3 separate regions of the Homo sapiens genome follow, and all the other regions are linked to region 2. The links are contacts of gene promoters, found by promoter capture Hi-C in blood cells and fetal thymus (Javierre and others, 2016). All regions are on one chromosome and are shown on one strand. Each heading gives the region's core, a stretch centred on a gene start or on the middle of the fragment in contact. The rest is flanking DNA. Distances are from core to core; before and after follow the strand shown. Region 1 overlaps CRTC3 (CREB regulated transcription coactivator 3). Region 2 holds the start of MAN2A2 (mannosidase alpha class 2A member 2). Region 3 has its middle 17 kb from the start of CRTC3.

What was found. The method cuts DNA at HindIII sites, captures the fragments that hold promoters and counts their contacts. A CHiCAGO score of 5 or more calls a contact.
Region 1: a fragment that was not itself captured here is called in contact with the fragment with the promoter of MAN2A2 in region 2 in 6 of 17 cell types (M0 macrophages, M1 macrophages, erythroblasts and 3 more); the score reaches 8.8 in M0 macrophages.
Region 3: a contact is called between a fragment that was not itself captured here and the fragment with the promoter of MAN2A2 in region 2, in 4 of 17 cell types (naive B cells, erythroblasts, activated CD4 T cells and 1 more). The highest score is 6.7, in naive B cells.

Annotation. Positions count from the first base shown.
Region 1 is chr15:90,633,884-90,636,606 of GRCh38, forward strand. All of the region lies in intron 11 of CRTC3 (CREB regulated transcription coactivator 3), which reads left to right. The region is part of intron 3 of CRTC3-AS1 (CRTC3 antisense RNA 1); the gene reads right to left. It also overlaps the pseudogene HSPE1P3. Among named protein-coding and RNA genes, the nearest start is that of LINC01585, 25 kb to the right of the region's middle. The HindIII fragment of the contact is 9,830 bases long and covers 1-2,723 here.
Region 2 is chr15:90,901,897-90,904,682 of GRCh38, forward strand. MAN2A2 (mannosidase alpha class 2A member 2) reads left to right here and starts at 1,406. Exons shown (of 23, transcript NM_006122.4): 1 at 1,406-1,536; 2 at 2,294-2,443. The coding sequence starts at 2,312. RefSeq lists enhancers at 447-496, 2,337-2,396 and silencers at 667-936, 957-1,386. The HindIII fragment of the contact is 23,300 bases long and covers 1-2,786 here.
Region 3 is chr15:90,511,835-90,514,534 of GRCh38, forward strand. No RefSeq gene overlaps it. Among named protein-coding and RNA genes, the nearest start is that of CRTC3, 17 kb to the right of the region's middle. RefSeq lists silencers at 469-669, 1,689-1,889. The HindIII fragment of the contact is 1,549 bases long and covers 662-2,210 here.

The DNA.
Region 1 (2,723 bases), core at 71-2,570, 270 kb before region 2:
TGCTCTCATTTTTAAATTGCTATGAGTTCTTTTTTGTTCTCTGAGTGTTCTTTTTTAATAGCATCATACTTATTCCACAGATGCAATATCATCTTTTATCTCTCAGGTTTTTAGTGGTCTTTTTTTTTCGAATTTATCTTTATTTTCTATAATAGAATTTTCCTAAATTGCATAAAAGTAGAGAACATAATACAATAAGTCCTCCTATACCCATCATTTACCCTCAACAATTAATTTTTTTTTTTTGAGACAGGGTCTTGCTCTGTTGCCCAGGCTGGAGTGCAGTGGTGTGATCTCGGCTCATTGTAACCTCCGCCATCCAGGTTCAAACCATTCTCCTGGCCTCAGCCTCCCGAATAGCTGGGACTACAGGTGCACACCACCACACCTGGCTAATTTTTGTAATTTTTAGTAGAGACGGGATTTCACCATGTTGGCCAGGCTGGTTTCAAACTCCTGACCTCAGGTGATCCACCCACCTCAGCCTCCCAAAGTCTGAGATTACAGGCGTGAGCCAGCACGCCAGCCTTGTTATCTTGTTTCATCCATACCCTGCTTTTAAAAATTGCAGATATTTTAATATGTATCTCTAATAGATAAGGATTTTCTTAGTAGCCTAAATATTGTCATGCTGATTTTGGTTTTTCACAACTACTTCTTCCTGCACACATCTTTCCAAGATTGTGTGTGTCTGCTCTGGCCTCTGACTTTCACGGCAGATGGTTTCCTCAGGGCCTGGTGATCCTCAGTGCTCTGCTCATGTTTAAGAACAGGACACTGAGGGGCTGTCTCCTTGCGGCTCTACACTAGAGCGGAGTATGAGACTGAGGCGAAGGGAGTCATGGCAGGACAAGCGTGTAGAAAGTTTTTTCCACTCTCTGACTGAGTATTGGTTGGAAGGAGCGCTGCTAAAACTGTAACCAAAGGAGGCATTTTGCTTCCAGAAAAATCTCAAGGAAAAGTATTGCAAGCAACAGTAGTCACTGTTGGATCGGGTTCTAAAGGTAAGGCTGGAGAGATTCAACCAGTTAGCGTGAAAGTTGGAGATAAAGTTCTTCTCCCAGAATATGGAGGCACCAAAGTAGTTCTAGATGACAAGGATTATTTCCTATTTAGAGATGGTGACATTCTTGGAAAGTACATAGACTGAAATAAGTCACTACTGAAATGGCATCAGTGTGAAGCTGCCCATTCCACTGAAGTTCTGAAATCTTTCATCATGTAAATAATTTCCATATTTCTTATAATAAACTAATGATAACTAATGACATCCAGTGTCTCCAAAATTGTTTCCTTGTACTGATATAAACATTTCCAAATAAAAATATGTAAATGAGAAAAAAAAAAGGACACTGAGAAGCTGGCTGGCAGCTCTGTGTATGTGGGCAGGCCTGCTGAGTGTGGTCTTCATTGTAGAATGATCTAGCTTGGTCATTTCCTTGGGAAACTCCTGGTGTCATAAGTTTTACATTCTTCTCTGGCCAGGCGTGGTGGCTCACACCTGTAATCTCAGCACTTTGGGAGGCCGAGGCGGGTGGATCACCTGAGGTCAGGAGTTCGAGACCAGCCTGGCCAACATGGTGAAACCCCGTCTCTACTAAAAATACAAAAATTAGCCAGGCGTGTTAGCATGCTCCTGTAATCTCAGCTACTCGGGAGACTGAGGCAGGAGAATTGCTTGAACCCAGGAGGTGGAGGTTGCAGTGAGCCAAGGTCATGCCACTGCACTCCAGCTTGGGTGACAGAGCAAGACTCTGTCTCCAGAAAAACTCTGTCTCCAGAAAAAAAGATTTTCTCTCTTCAGGCCTTGTCAGGTTCCCTAAAGGACACTCTTCCAATGTCGCACCTCGGCATATCAGGATTCCGGCATCCTGTGAGCCGGGTTGGGAAAGAAAGGTGGAGATCTTAAGATTCGATCGTGAAATTTCTTCTAAAGAATAAAATACCTAGGAATCCAACTTATAAGGGATGTGAAGGACCTCTTCAAGGAGAACTACAAACCACTGCTCAATGAAATAAAAGAGGATACAAACAAATGGAAGAACATTCCATGCTCATGGGTAGGAAGAATCAATATTGTGAAAATGGCCATACTGCCCAAGGTAATTTATAGATTCAATGCCATCCCCATCAAGCTACCAATGACTTTCTTCACAGAATTGGAAAAAACTACTTTAAAGTTCATATGGAACCGAAAAAGAGCCCACATTGCCAAGTCAATCCTAAGCCAAAAGAACAAAGCTGGAGGCATCATGCTACCTGACTTCAAACTATACTACAAGGCTACAGTAACCAAAACAGCATGGTACTGGTACCAAAACAGAGATATAGACCAATGGAACAGAACAGAGCCCTCAGATATAATGCCACATATCTACAACCATCTGATCTTTGACAAACCTGACAAAAACAAGAAATGGGGAAAGGATTCCCTATTTAATAAATGGTGCTGGGAAAACTGGCTAGCCATACGTAGAAAGCTGAAACTGGATCCCTTCCTTACACCTTATACAAAAATTAATTCAAGATGGATTAAAGACTTAAATGTTAGACCTAAAACCATAAAAACCCTAGAAGAAAACCTAGGCAATACCATTCAGGACATAGGCATGGGCAAGGACTTCATGTCTAAAACACCAAAAGCAATGGCAACAAAAGCCAAAATTAACAAATGGGATCTAATTAAACTAAAGAGCTTCTGCACAGCAAAAGAAACTACCATC
Region 2 (2,786 bases), core at 156-2,655:
AGTTCTGGAGGCTGGAAAGTCCATGATAAGGCATAAGCGGATTCAGTGTCGGGTGAGGGCCTGCCTGTGGTGCACAGATAGTGCCTTCTAGCTGTGTTCTCACGTGGTTGAAGGGGCCGACTCTCGGGGTCATTTGATACCGGCACTAATCCCATTCATGAGAGCTCTCCCTTCAAACTCTGTTCACCCCCAAAGGCCCATCTCCTAATACCATCATCACCTTGAGGGATTAGGATTTGAACATGAATTTGGGGGGTCACATTCAGATAATGTTATATATAACTTAAAAAGAACAAAAATGTGGAATTCATGGAGATGTTCATTGCAGTATGGATTACACTGAAAAACTGTAAACAACCTAGATGCCCAGTAAAAGGGAAACAGCCAAGAAAAGTCTGTGTCTTGTTCACTCGCTGGCAGGAAACATAGAGCAGGCACGGAAAGGAAAGGGACTCGAGGAATGCGCTGTACCGACAGGAGGCAGCACCCCTTTGCCCGAGGGGCGCAACGACAGAGACCTAAGGCTACCTGGGCCGGAGCCGGGTGAGGCCGCGGAGAACGCACCCCGCTACGCGTCTGCCGAGACGGAGGCGGGCGTTTCGACCACTGCCCGATCATGCGCTTACTCAAGTAGGATTCCGAAAAAATTCAGTCGCGCGTCCCTCCTGAGGTTCCGCAGCTGGCCAGGCCCGGCCCGGGCTGGTGCGGCTGCGCACTGCAGCCCAGCGGAGCGGGCCCGGGAGGAGCCGGGCGGGGACCGCGGCGGCCAGAGCTCCTGTCAGCTCCGCCGGGCACACGCAGGCCGGGGCGGGCGGCGCGGCTGTCCCCGCCCCGCACGCTGCTGGGCCCGGCAGCTTCAGAGGCTGGCGGACCCGCGCGGGGCCGGCGCAGCGGAGCGCGCCGGCGGCCCGGGGCCCAGCGGGAGCGCGGCAGCGGCGCGCGGAGCAGGGGGCTACGGGTGGGCGGGCGCCCGCCTTCGCCTGCGTCGCTGCCTGCACGCGGGCCGCCGTCCCCGGGCGTGTGAGAGCCGGCAGCTCGGCCGACTGGGCCCGGAGCGGCGCGGAGGCCGGGCGCTGACGGTAACGGGCCGGGTGCGCGCGCGGGAGGGCTCCGGCTGCCCCGACAGAGGCCGGGCTCGGGCGGCGGGAGTGCGAGCGCCACTGCGGCGTCAGAGGGGCCAGGAAGGGACAGGAGGCTGCCTGAGGCCCGTACCTGGCGCCTGTCTCTGCGGTCCCCGGGGCCGACGAAGTCGGAGCGGGTGGGGAGGGAGCCGGGCGGGCGGCCAGAGACCTGGCGGCAGGTGCCTGCCCTCTGTGATCCAACTCTCTCCCCAGCTCCACCCACATTGGCCTAGACCCAGTCTCTAAGGGCTGAAAATATTGCCCGGAAGCTCCCGAGCAGAATCAGATCGCGCTAAGTAGGGCACAACGCAGAGGCGACAAAGCTCCTCGGCCCCAGGGCCCGCGGAGCAGACTCCGGAGCGCGGTCCCGCCCACGCTCGGCTCCGCAGTTAGCGTCCTCCTTCCTCCTGAGCAGGCAAGCGGAGCCCGAGGGCGGTGGCGGCGGGGGGCACGGGTCCCCTGAAGTTGCCTCGCAGCTGAGCACTGGGCCCCGTCTCTCCCTTCCCAGGGGGCCTTCGGCGTCACTGCAGGCTTCCTAGGGGTCCCCTAAGTGCTCTGCAAACCGCGGCTGGAAGTTTCCCACTGCAGTGAACAGTAGAGAAACAGGGAGAACACACAGGGCTTGCTTTATGCTAGAAACACAAGCATCTTTCTTCTTTATTAGAAAGAAACTCATTCTGTGTTTCTGAGAAAGGATCGTGCCAGGCACTGTTTCTGGTGAGTGCCAGTTTGACCCGAAAGGGCACTGAGAAAGGCTTTCCTATCAGTCTCTTTGGGTTCTGGCTAAACTTTTAAATCAAACAAAATAGAGACTAGCTTATTCACCTGAAACTAGAAGCACATGGCCGAGGAGCCTGAACAGGCACCTCCTATCTAGGCAGGGAAGCTGTGTAATCAGGAGCTTGTGTGGTGCGCTCCAGTCGGAGCTGGGACTCTTATCCTGGGCCCGTTTTTCATAGCACCAGCCAAAGGAGAGCGTCCTCTCCACCCTAGCGGCAGAGCTGCTACCAGGACCAGGTGGGCCAGCCTCAGATGTGCTGCTTGTGCTACTTGGAGCCAGGCAAATGGGTGTTCCTTTGGAACAGCCCTCAGGAACTCACTGGGGTATTTGGTGGAAAGACTGCCACGGGCATTTTGCATGTTGGAGCTACAGATGGTGTCCTTCCTGCCAGGTGTGTGTGGAGGCCAGTATGAAGCTGAAAAAGCAGGTGACAGTGTGTGGGGCTGCCATCTTCTGTGTGGCAGTCTTCTCGCTCTACCTCATGCTGGACCGAGTGCAACACGATCCCACCCGACACCAGAATGGTGGGAACTTCCCCCGGGTGAGTCGTGCCTGGTTGCTAATTTCTTTGTATACAAGTCACCTGGGCTCAGGGTATGCACCTCCCACCCCGCCGCCTCCCCTCCCACCCCCCGCTGGAGGGTAATGTCAGTACAGGACAGGAGCCTTCCTTCCCAATAGTCAGGTTTTGTAGAAACCCTCAGCTAAAAACAGTGATGGCGAAAAGAAGGAAGGAAGAAAAAATGTCAATGGCAATGAGTATTGTCACTCTGTTCTCCTGAATTCTTTTCTTTCTTTTTTTTTTTTTTGAGACAGAGTCTCGCTCTGTCGCCCAGCCTTGAGTGCAGTGGCGCGATCTTGGCTCACTGCAACCTCCGCCTCCC
Region 3 (2,700 bases), core at 186-2,685, 390 kb before region 2:
GTATTTAGGAAGTAGAATGGATTCACTGAACATTAGGGGAAGGAATAGTGGGGCATAGGGCTGGCAAGTACTCCTGAAGAAGTATTCTGTGATCAAGGAAGTTTGGGAAATGTTGTATTCTGTCATATTTGGAAGTCACAACACATATGTAAAAGCCCTTAGGGCTGGGTATGGTGGCTCACGCCTGTAATTCCAACACTTTGGGAGGCTGAGGCAAGTGGATCACCTGAGGTCAAGAGTTTGAGAACAGCTTGGCCAACATGGTGAGACCTTGGCTCTACTAAAAATACAAAAAATTAGCTGGGCATGGTAGCACGTGCCTGTAGTCTAAGCTACTCAGGAGGCTGAGGTAGGAGAATCTCTTGAACTCAGGAGGCAGATGTTGCAGTGAGCCAAGATCGTGCCATTGCACTCCAGCCTGGGCGACAGAGTGAGACTCTGTCCAAAAAAAAAAAAAAAAAAAAGCTCTGAGAAGTTCTACAGTCAAGAAACTTGCTTAGCTTTGTGTAGCATAGCTTTCCCCAAATGTATCTGACCACACAATCCCCTCCCTCTTACCCTTTAGAAAGCTCCTATTAGCCATCAGTGAAACTCATGTTCCATGGAACACATTCTTCGAAATCCTGGAGAAAAGAGGAAGCTAGAACAGAACCCGACTTTAAGCTTTCAACAAATGGTAAATATTACCTAGGAAACAGAAAAGCAAAAATGTGCATTTGTATGCCACATTTGTCAAAGAATTTTGGACTCCATTCTACATTTCTATTTTGGTAAGTTTGTTTAAAACTTTTGTTCTTAAATTGCAGATACTTGTTCTGTGTAAATTTTGTCCCCACTTGTCTAGAAAATAATTTTGATGTGATGTATAAGAATGTGCACTTGATAAACTTATGATAGTTGCTCATAGCCACTGGCTTTTGTTTCTGGAGAAAAATATTCCCAATGCCTATGGGGACGGAGGTACAGAGACCTTTATGGTGGGAGCTGAAAAGGCACATGACAGAAAAAATGATGTGATGAGAATTAAAGTCAAACTCCTCCTGTTTAATGCTAACTCAGAGGCCAGGCACGGTGGCTCACACCTGTAATCCCAGCACTTTGGGACGTCAAGGCAGGTGGATCACCTGAGGTCAGGGGTTTGAGACCAGCCTGGCCAACATAATGAAACCCTGTCTGTACTAAAAATACAAAAACTTAGCTTGGTGTGGCAGTGCATGCCTGTAGTTCTAGCTACTCCGTAGGCTGAGGCAGGAGAATCACTTGAACCTGGGAGGGAGAGATTGCAGTGAGCCGAGACCAAGCCACTGCACTCCAGCCTGGGTGACAGTGAGACTCCGCCTCAGAAAAAAAAAAAAGCAAAGCAAAAAAAAAAAGCTAACTCAGAACTAGCTCCCAGAAAAAAAGGAGAACCAGTGTCCAAACACCCTTCTCCACTAAAAGGAACCAGGGCTCCATGGAGAAATGGCTGATTCTGGGGCCAAGCAGACAAAGTACAACATGAGCCTAAAATATTGGGTGCCTAGACAGGAAGAAATACTAAAAAAAATGGAAACATGGTAAAAGGATGCAGACAGTAAATCTGGGATAATTTTAAGTACTAAAATAATAACAGTAGTTGCAGGGGTCTGTCCCGCAGACCCAACAACAGATGAATAAAGTACACTGACACAGATATTCTGCTTTGCCAGTCCAGCTGAGCATCTGGGCCACTTACAGACTCCAAGAAGAGTGCTATAAAGAGTAGCAGCCGTGGCCTCCACCATCCAGGGAGACTCACATTTGTTCAGTAAAGATTAATTGACAAAGGCTTGAGTCAACACAGCTAGAGGGTAATTGACATTGCCAACCTCCTGAGTAGAAAGCAATTAAGCACCCACAGTAGATCAAAGGTTAGTCTTAGGACCACATGAGTAAACAAGCTAGTTTAGATAAACTCCCCCACATTTCTTTGTATCTACTTTAATCTATTTAAAGGTAAAGGGACTAGGCTGCCTTCAGCCAGATCTATTACCACAATTATGCAAACTCTCAGGCCTTCCAAGAGGGTTTGTGGCTATTATAACTAAAATTTTTCCCACCAGCCTGACTGAACCCCAACCAGTAATGAATTATAACCCATTAAAATTAGAATTCATGAGTCCATTCTGATATAAACAAATAAATGGGAAAGGGGCAATAATTATCAATGCATACTAAAACTAGTGGGTACAAGCTTGTGGAATAACAGGATTTTTAAATTTTATTTATTTATTTATTTATTTATTTATTTATTTATTTATTTTTGAGACAGGATCTAGCTCTGTCACCCAGGCTGGAGTGCAGTGGTGTGATCTCACCTCACTATAACCTCCACCTCCCAGGCTCAAGCAATCCTCCCACCTCAGCCTCTTCAGTAGCTGGGACCACAGGCACACGCCACCGTGCCTGGCTAATTTTTGTATTTTTTGTAGAGATGGGGTTTTGCCATCTTGCCCAGCCTGGTCTTGAACTGCTGAGCTCAAACAATCCTCCTGCCTCAGCCCGAATAACAGGATGTTTATATCATCTCAGATTATCCCCCTTCGAGATACTTACTGATTACAAAAAGAAATAATAGAAATTTTATAGTGGGCCGGGTGTGGGGGCTCACACCTCTAATCCTAGCACTTTGAGAGGCCGAGGTAGGTGGGTCACGAGGTCAGGAGTTCAAGACCAGCCTGG